3 separate regions of the Homo sapiens genome follow, and regions 1 and 3 are each linked to region 2. Evidence: promoter capture Hi-C in 16 types of primary human blood cells and fetal thymus (Javierre and others, 2016). All regions are on one chromosome and are shown on one strand. Each heading gives the region's core, a stretch centred on a gene start or on the middle of the fragment in contact. The rest is flanking DNA. Distances are from core to core; before and after follow the strand shown. Region 1 overlaps LOC101928362 (a long non-coding RNA gene). Region 2 holds the start of MGST1 (microsomal glutathione S-transferase 1). Region 3 overlaps LOC101928362 (a long non-coding RNA gene).

Region 1 (3,394 bases), core at 640-3,139, 230 kb before region 2:
CTTCAATACTTTTCTGCTGCTCATTTTTATGTGAGATCAGTTTTCTAAAATTTTAGAGGCCTGGCTCTTCTAACTGGCTTTTCTAACTTTGGAGAGTTCCCTCTTCTGTTGTATTCCAAGACTTCCTGGTTCTGTTTTCCTCCTCCACTTTTGTCTGGATCATTTCTTTCCTTTGTCTCTATTGGGCCTAATTTGCTCAGTTTTGATTCCATTCCAGCAGTTTCACCTCAGTGCAAGGCCCTTTCCTGGAAGGGAGCTCCATCCTGGAGGAAGGCTCATAAGTGTTAGATTCCTAAGATTCCTCCATTTCCCACCACCAGCCCCCTTGTACTGCTGCCCATTGTTGGATTGGATAAACCTCCCAGTTTCAGTAGCTGTTTCCAAATGGGCACACAGTGCTTTGTTTTTGATTCTCTCTGCCTTCCTCTGCACAGACACTGATACCACTCTGGTCTTGCAGCTGTTGGTGGTTTGTCCTCACTGGCTGATATTTGAGGTTTGTAAAGAAATGTAGTCCTCTAATTTCATTGTAAATGTTAGCCATGGAGTTTTGGTTTGCTATCTGATTACTTTGTCTGCTTTAATGCAGGGATTCAGAGAGATAAAATATGTATGTATATCATGTCCACTGCCACCATCTTCTTTTGAACACTAAGTATTTGCCAAGATTCTCTTATATATTGTCTCATTCAATTTTTACAACATCCAGGTGGGGTAGGAATAATTATCATTCTCATTTCACATAGAAGGAAACCCTGGCTCAGGAGGTCAAATAGCTTTTGAAGTGCTAGAGCTGGGATTTGAACCAATGTCTGTGTGACTACTAAGTCTGCTAATCTTTATGTCAAAAATATTTTAAAATCAGTTCTTTAAAATTTAAAATATATATTCCCATAGAATGTTTTCTAACCAAAATATTATAATCTATGGTTAAGAAAATACTAGTTTTTGAGCATGAGAATTTGGATGATTTTTTTCTTTTGTTCACATCCTCAAATTTCTCTAATGAGTCTATATTAACTTAAAATGAAACATCCAATACACCTTATTTTAAAAATTAAAACAAGCAGGTTTGCAAAGTTCCTTGGTGGGTCTTCAAAAGTTTATTTAATTCAAGATGTACTTGGAATACAGTATGTATACATGTGTGGATACTTATGCATACACAGACATTTGATTAAAGCAGCAAATCAAATCATACATCTATAAAAGTAATAGTAATAGCATAATTGTTAAGGTGCTTAATGATTAAAGATGTCAGTTCTGTGTTTAGACAGACTGGAGTTTGAACACTGGGTCTTTGTCTTATTTGGTTACCTTGGATGAATTATTCAGCTCATTCAAGCTTCAGTTTCCTTATCTGTACAGTGGAATGACTTCATAGGATTGTCCTGGTCATAAAACGACATAATACATGTGGAACAAAGCACTTAAGGCAGTACTCAGCAATAATAAGCACTCACCAAATATGAATGGTTGTGAAACAAACAAACAAAAAAATTAGGCGTAGTGGAAATAAAGGGAGGATTGTAGCCATTCTGAAAAAAATTCTGTGTAATGTCAAGCCTGAAGAAATAGATGGCTTTTTTGTTTGTATGCTTTGCAGAGGGGTGCGGGGATTTTTTTAACCAATTTATCAGAGATCAATAAGTGCCTTTAAAAAAATTTCACAACTGGGGGAAACGAGAGTTACAGTAAGTAGCCTTAGAGTAGGTGGAGTAGGTGTTGCAGTGTGGAAGTGACAGCTCACACATCACATGACAGGCATGTATAGGTCAGATACTTGTTGCAACTTGGAAATTGACTTCCTGTAGAGTTCTAGGGACAGATTGGAAATTGCCCTGCTGAGCCAGTATATACTTGACAGAAAACTTTGTCAGGTCTCCCCAGGAGCTGATTTGGAAGGCCATTTGTAACCCTGATAATTGTAAACAAATTGTTCTGAAGTGGTAACTTGAAATATGTGTTGGTGCGAATTGTTAGACTATTCAACTGCAATGAGTTTAATTGGTTATAAGAATGTGTTTCTTCTTGGAAAGTGTAATACACACCTCTCCTCCCCCACGGAATTTGCTATTTTGTGATCATTGCTGTTGGGATAATAGAAGCATTTAATTTTATTGAGTGCAAATATGTGATTTGAAATGGATAAACAGGATTTCTCCCTTTCTAATTTTGGGCTATAATATCATTTGTTCAGTGATAAGATGCCTGTTAGCATCCAGAAGTGATATAGAGACCATTTTCTGTGTCCACAATGTGGGGAAGATAGAGAGGGTTAGGTATGGTGCATGTATTGCAAGAGGAATTCCCCGGTGCTGCAGGCAGTGTTGGCAGTTGAGATGTATTTCTGCTAGTTAGTGATTGCATTCGTGCACCTGCCTTCCCGGGCCTGGCTCCCCACCTGGGAAGTCTGGTGAGGCTGACAGACAATAAGCTTGGGTGACAACAACTGTACCATTGGCTCCAGTACATTGCTATGAAGGGAAATCCTAAGGTGAAAAGAATCTGTTAGCTAACATGGGGACTAGAAAACCTCCTGCTAAAATGTGAGCTGTGGTTTCCACTACACAGATGGTTTTCAGCTCCAAGAATCTAGAATGGATTCTCCTCAGGTTTCCAGTTTCTAGAGAAGGTAGATTTTTTTTTTTTTTTTCTGAACAACTAGATGTGTTTATTTTCTGATAGGTATTTTGTGACTCTTGAAACTAATAATGATTATCTCTTTGATTTGATCACTAGGGAGTCACATTTGTGGCTTATGTCAACAAATCTTATAGTATCCCTAAAGACATGAGCTTTTATATAGTTATTTATCTGGAGAACAGAGATGCATCTCTCTCTATCTCTTCATTTTCCCTTCATTGTGATTTCCTCATCTATCATTTATTCCCTAGTATATATACTTTTCTGTGAGGCATTTCAAGGCCTTTTTAAATCAAGTTAAATCAGTTCCACACCTAATAGTTTCCAAATCAGGTCAAGAAGAGGTACAGGGGGAGCCTAACTTTCCCTTTCATTGTTTTGGTCGGTAATTAATTAAATCTTCGCTAAGTAGAGAGGATGAAGTTGCTGGGAGTGTACATGGTCTGCTCCACTTATTGTCTTTTGAGAAAAACTTTCTTGGCCACTTAATTGTTATAATCAGTAATTACAACTTTATTAAATAATTTGTAAAATCCTATTCCTGAGTTATACATGTGCATGTGAAACAGTTTTTTAAAATGCTTTCTTGATCTAGTTTTGAGTCACTGACGAGAGGCTGGTCAGTTCCCCTTCTTGAGCATTCCATTAAGTCTGCACCCCAAGCATCTGCTTGATTGGGCTCTCACACTGTGGGCCACTATACCTGCTCTAATTGTCCCAGGGTCAGGATATTAGGCAACCAGAGTTT
Region 2 (3,294 bases), core at 459-2,958:
AATTAATAGTTTGAACACATTCTATATTTAGAGCATTAGATGAGTCAAGTGCTACTTTCTTTTTTAAAAAAATGTTAGAACCAGCTGGACGCAGTGGCTCACGCCTGTAATCCCAACACTTTGGGAGGCTGAGGCAGGTGGATCACGAGGTCAGGAGATCAAGACCATCCTGGCTAACACAGAGAAACCCCGTCTCTACTAAAAATACAAAAAATTAGCCAGGCGTGATGGCAGGTGCCTGTGATCCCAGCTACTTGGGATGCTGAGGCAGGATAACGGTGTGAACTCGGGAGGCGGAGCTTGCAGTGAGCTGAGATCGCGCCACTGCACTCCAGCCTGGGCTACACAGGCAGACTCCGTCTCAAAAAAAAAAAAAAAAAAATGTTAGAACCATTCAACTAGCATTCTGTAGACCAAATTATCTAAACAGTAGCTCTCCTCTTCCTTTTTCTGCCATGTTATCCATAAGATTTGGCCTGTATCACCTTATAATAAATGAAGAGAGTCTTAAATTCTTATAATACCAAACTCCTTTGGAGAGAATTCAGAATAGATTTATGTCATCTCAAATTCTATCCTATTCCAGTTAATGTTACAGACAGATTCTAGTATACTTTACAAAGATAGGTGAATAAGTAGAGTTTTGAAAAGATACAGACATAAAAGTGAAGAACAGATGCCTTCTGATGCTAGATTTTCCAAAACTCCTACTGTTATGCTTATATAGAAATCATTCTCAGACCTTCCTTGGATTAATTTCTGTTCCTAGAGCAAACTGGTAGTTATTTCTTTCTTTAATAGAACATGAACTTGTCCATCACATCCTAGAAAGTTAGTCCTAGGGATATCCTTTAAAGCCTAAAGGAGTAAATTAAGAGCAAAAAAAGGAAGTAGACCTTGCAACAGGTGGTGAGTGTCTGAGATATAGCACTAGGAGAGAAATAATATAGATTGAAAACAGAAATCCTTAAACATTTCTCATATAAACCCATGAAAGATAGATCCATAAATATTGTGGGGACTATGGGGACTAGGAAGCTTGGAAGTATCCCTAATCTAGATAGTGATGGTAGGCTAAATATCTACGGCTTCCGTAAACGTTCCTCTAAACCTCCCTGTAAAAAACACACTAAGCTGATTGTGTAATGAGCTGATCCAGTACAATTGCCTCCAATTTCATTCTGGACCCTGAACAGGAGGGGACATCGTGACAAAGCAAATTGTCTGGTATCATGAATTTGGAACACCGTAAGTGATCTTTACTGAGGGTTACATTCTGTCATTGTCAGCCTTTTAAGGAGGCCTTGCCACCAGCGCAGGGGAGGTGAAGTCTAAGGGAAGGTAATATTGTCAATGCCTGCTAATTAGTTCTACCCTGGAGATTTTAACTTTCTGCGAAGTTTTTAAAAACAACTTCCAAAACTCTGCTGATCCTGAAATGTTCGAGAATTCAGAGTTCCTAGACAATGGCTACTGTCCCCCTTCCCACTGATTAGGGGAGTTGGCATTTCAGGAACCAGAGTTTCTAAGGGCGCCAAATAGAAGGGCTCAAAGGGAATCAGCAGGCGATGGTTACTGTGGGCGGGTAAATCAGGTGATTTAGAGGAGGGGTTTGGCGAGGTTGGGGTCGGGCTTTAAACGTGGGAGGGCTAATTAACAGGAGATTAACTGGAGAGGGGCGGTGCCTGCGTCCGGCCCGCGCGGCCACAGTCCCTGCATTGCGCGCGACCCGGCGGCGGGACAGGCTTGCTGCTTCCTCCTCCTCGGCCTCACCGTGCGTACTGGGAGGGGAGAAGGGGACCGCATGCAAAGGGTGGCAGGCAGGGAGGGCCAGGGTGGGTGGCAGATGGAAGACTTGGGGGGGTCTCTGCCAGCTGGAAGTGCTTGGCTCCACTTAGCAGCTAAACTTAGCTTTTCAATCGATCGCTTTTGAAAGGGAATTGTATTTCTGTCCCCGTGCGGGTAAGTTTTCCCATTTCTCAAACTCCAGGAATGAAACGAGAGAGTCTTTTCATGCTTGAGTGATGATTTCCAAACTTAGCCTTTTCAAGTCAAAGTAACCTCCTGTTTGAAAGGGTCCCTTGAACTCTGGGGAAGGAGGAAAAGGCACGTGTAGTAATGGAGGAAATGCCTGTAGTTTGAACGACTGCTGTTCTCCCCAAGAGTGCAAAAGCCTGCGATGTCTCAGGTTTCATGGGCATAGTGGCCTTTATGCCTATTGTAAGGCAGGATTTGCTCTTCTGAGTTCACTTTGATAGGAGAAACATCAGCAAGTTTTAAAATAATACTAAATAATACTACTGCTAATAATGCTAGCTATCGAAACAAGAGGATGTGGGTTAGATGATAATATTTTTGTGTGATATTATAGCCAGTGACAAGAGAGCTAAGGGTGAGCCCCTTGGGACGGTTCTCACCTGTGCCCCACTTCCCCAGTCTGGAGGAGGAAGCCATGTGGAAGGAGAAAAGGAGAAGGGAACTCTCTTTTTCGGGAATTAAGGTGTCATATATTGCTCTAGCTGGCTTGGGACAGAGGAGAGAGGAGTGCATGTAAATCTTCTAGTCTCTCTGCTTCTCTTGAAATGTGGCAGTCTGAGCTCCACGTTTATATTCCCCTATTTCTTCTCCCTAATTTCTTACCCAGTGAGTGCTGAGTGGGTGCCCGCAAGCATTGCTGTATAGCACCCAGGCCTCCAGTGAGCAATCCTTAAAGCCCAGTTTTCCTGGGGTCCCAGCCTGCTGTGAGTCCCAGCCTACACCTACCTTTTGCATATGCTTTTCTTGGCCTTAGGATAGTACTGGACTTTGTTGTCCTCTGCTGTTTCCAAAATAAGAGGGCTATGTGTGCGATTATCTTTGGTAATTAAAAAAAAAAAAAAAAAAAAGGCAAATCAGTCCAAATTTGGATATTACCCTCTCTGGCAGACGAGTAAAATTTTTCTACCGCTTTGTTTTAGAGTGGTGTCTATGAATCCCTGAGATTGGAAAAGGAGGTCAGGTCAGCACAGAGAAAGGCCTTACCCCACCACTCTCCCGAGAGGCACCAGCATTTCACCTGCAGCCTCTGGGCTCTGAACCCCACTTTGCATGAGACCACATAGTGGGCTGAGTCTGCAGCCACCACGATGCCTTCAGGAAATGCTAGAATTCATCTAGAGTTCCAGATTAACGTATCCGCAACATGGCCACCGAATTATCTTTTTTCTTTATCTCATGTGTAGTGTTTGTTAGTTTTAGAAGGTACAAAATTGCAGAGTCATGGCCCTGGGGATGCGTGCCCAGATTATTCATGTG
Region 3 (3,234 bases), core at 363-2,862, 200 kb before region 2:
CAGCTCTAGCAGACTAAACTGCTATAACAAAGCTACCCCCATATATAAGATAAAGGTTGATTTCTCTCTCATAGAATAATCTAAGTTCTAGGCTGGTGGACAATTCTGCTCCATTCAATTATTCAGGGGCTCAGGTTTTTCCATCTTGTTTATCAAGTTTACAGTATTGTCATCATCTGCATTGCCAAAGCTATATTCCTGTGTTGCACCAGACTGATGAGAAGAAGAAAATGCATATAAAGGAGCAATCCCAGTCTCTTAAAAGGTCTGCCTCAGTAGTGTTTCGTACTCCATTGTCATGAACCTTGTCACATGAGTGGGGCAGGGACACAGGGAAATGCAGTAAAGATGGCTAGTCATGTATCAGGCTCCAATTGTATTACTATGGGAGAAGGGGAGAACAGATTATATTGGACAACTAATTACTTTTACTTCAGCCTGATCCTTTGGCCATCAAATATCTGTGGACCTTTCTTTTCATGTAAAAATACATATAATCCCTCTTCAAAAAAGAAAACCCTAAGTCCCACCAATTTTTGAATTTAGATCACAGCCCAGAGTCTCTGGGTGATGAACAATTTTCTCCACCAAATCTGGATGTACTCCTAGGATACAAAAACTAAAAGACAAGGTGTTTGCAAACTCACAATGCAACAAACAAACCCTATATACAATCATGGACTAGAGACAGGATAACCATATTAAAAACTCTCAACTGGAAACAAACAAATGAACAAACAACAGTCAATGGTTTATGTAGTGATGGGTCCTGCTGTGTAGGAATTGCTTAAATGCCCTAATCTGGCAGTTGAATTTACTTGATTTAACCCTGGTTCTGCTTTCTCAAAGGAATTTCCTCTCTATTATCTTCCTGGAAAATATCCAAAGTGTCCCTCTTTAGGGACTGTGTCACTTTTGCAGCCTGCTTCTTGCTTGTGCAAATTTGGTGATACCATGTTTGTTTTAAACCTCAGTCACAGGTGTTTTGCAGACCAGGCTTTGGTTCCTTTGGAAATACATTTCTTAGTACTCTCAAAAACATAATACGTTTCTGCTGTATTCATTCTCAGTCATATTTGGCTGTAGCCAAATCCAAGGTTGTTTTCCTTTAGCCATAGTGTTTTCATTTGTTTTATGTAATTCTGCCTTGCTACCCATCACTGCCCCTGCTGCCAACCCATATGCTACCTTAGCAGCTCTCTGAAACAATAGACTTGGATAAGAAGTCAAGATAAGAACCTTAAAGTTTGGGTTCTGTGATCAGAAAGCTTTTTCAGCCTTCAGACCCTGATCCTTTCTATTCTTTTCCATTTCTGCCTGCTAACAGGCTAATTCTCAACTGAGCTCATCACTTCTTTGTTATAACTTGCAAGCAATAAGGATCTGTTCTTTCTAGACATTTCATAGACCTGCTACTTCAGGAGGCATGTGATCTCCCTTCCCAATTGTTTGATGCGATAGTTTACAAAACGTTTTGCCAGGATATACCAAGCATTTGTGGTTTTCTCATCTCCAATTGCCTTTCTGATAAACCAATGCCACATTTTAGGTGTTATAATGGTAGCGCTCCATATATGGTAGTTCTTTCTGTACTAGGTTAAAGATAGCGCTAAATAAAGAGACTATAAAATACAATGCTTAAAACAAGATGGAAGATTTTTCCTAGCTTACATAATCATCTGAATTTCAGGTTGATAGGTAGCTCTCTTCCATATAAATAAATCAGGGACTCAGATTCTTTCTGTGTTATTTTCTTATTACCTCATGGGGTATTGTCTTCATTTGCAAGATTAAAACTATATCTCAGGTATGTCCATTTTGTAAAGAGGAGATTATGAAGGAGGTAGGTCTAGAAGTAGGCACATTTATGTTATGCTCATATTTAATGGTGAAAACAAAGCCACATCTAACTGAAAGGGAATCTGGGAGCTCTAGGGTAGGTAAGCAGCCTTGTACAAAGCTTCAGTTGTATTATTATGAAAAAAGTGAGAGTGTTAGTCAACAGCCTGTGTTATGGGAGACAGTCTAAAAGTAGGGACCCTAGTTAGGAGGCTGCTTCAATCATCAAGGTATGCAATGATCATGTCTTTGTAGAGTAGTAGTAGTAAATGTGTTGAGAAGGAGTTGGATTTCAGATATATTTTGAAAGCTAGTAGAATTTAGTAATTGATTGGAGGGTATGAGAGAAGGTGACTCTAAGATTTTTGGCTTGTGTACCTGAGTAGGGACATGTACTGAGAGGGAAAATTAGAGGAAGGGCAGGATTGAGATGGGGAAAATAAAGAGTTAGATTTTGAACTGATTAGACATCTAAGTAAGCAGGTCATGTGGGGATATTTAAGTTTGGAGTTCAAGAATATTATTGAAGATATACATTTCTGGGGCCATCAGTGTGTCGATGGTATTTAAAGCCATGCATCTGTAATACCACCTAGAGAGTGAGTGAAGCTGAAAAAAGCAAAGAGCTCTAAGAACTGAGCTTTAGTGCACTCCAGTGTTTAGAAGCCAAGGAGATTGGGAGAAACCAATACAGACTATTGACAGGGCAGCCAGGGAGGTAGGGGGAGAATTAAGAGATAAAGTTTCCCTAAATACAAGAGAAGAAGGTATTTCAGGAAGGCGAAAGTGGCAGACTAGGTCAAATATTGGTATTTCGATGAAGTTGAAACTGACAATCAACCAGCAATGTGGAGCCTAACTGGTGACCTTGACCGAGTTGTTACATTGGATGGAGTGAGTTGAAGAGAGAATGGGACTGGACAAAGTAAAGACCAAACATGACCAAATTTTGGAGAAGTTTAAAGATAAAGGGAAGTAGTGAAGTGGAGTAGTAACTTGAAGGAAACTATGGGAACATGAAAGATTCTTTTAATATGAGAGATATTAAAACAGGTTACATATTCATAGGGATAATCCAGTACAGAAAGAATGTGTAAGAGGGAGTGATAATCACTGGAATGACCCTAAGCAATGGAATCTAGTATTCGAGCATTGATCTTGATCTTAAATAGGAACACGCTTCATCCATTGCCATGAAGGAAGGTAGGGAAAATGAGTATAGATGCAAGTAAGTTGATAGACACAGCAGTGGAAATGTGTGGACATTCTTTTCTGATGGCTTCTACTTTATCAACCACATAGGAAGCAGGGTCCTCAGCTAAGAGAGGGTCAGGAAAGAGGAACTGGAGGTTTGAGAAGAGATGAGAAGTTGTGAAATTGTGGTCTAGAACAAGA

Evidence for each region. Contacts are between HindIII fragments. The CHiCAGO score rates a contact against its expected background, and 5 or more counts as called.
Region 1: a contact is called between a fragment that was not itself captured here and the fragment with the promoter of MGST1 in region 2, in 2 of 17 cell types (M1 macrophages and M2 macrophages). The highest score is 5.8, in M1 macrophages.
Region 3: a contact is called between a fragment that was not itself captured here and the fragment with the promoter of MGST1 in region 2, in 1 of 17 cell types (monocytes). The highest score is 5.0, in monocytes.

What each region holds. Positions count from the first base shown.
Region 1 is chr12:16,118,434-16,121,827 of GRCh38, forward strand. All of the region lies in intron 1 of LOC101928362 (a long non-coding RNA gene), which reads left to right. Among named protein-coding and RNA genes, the nearest start is that of SLC15A5, 160 kb to the right of the region's middle. The HindIII fragment of the contact is 1,092 bases long and covers 1,344-2,435 here.
Region 2 is chr12:16,345,937-16,349,230 of GRCh38, forward strand. MGST1 (microsomal glutathione S-transferase 1) reads left to right here and starts at 1,709. Exons shown (of 4, transcript NM_020300.5): 1 at 1,709-1,774. RefSeq lists enhancers at 799-1,728, 2,659-3,294. The HindIII fragment of the contact is 2,670 bases long and covers 1,037-3,294 here.
Region 3 is chr12:16,145,926-16,149,159 of GRCh38, forward strand. The region is part of intron 1 of LOC101928362 (a long non-coding RNA gene); the gene reads left to right. Among named protein-coding and RNA genes, the nearest start is that of SLC15A5, 130 kb to the right of the region's middle. The HindIII fragment of the contact is 692 bases long and covers 1,267-1,958 here.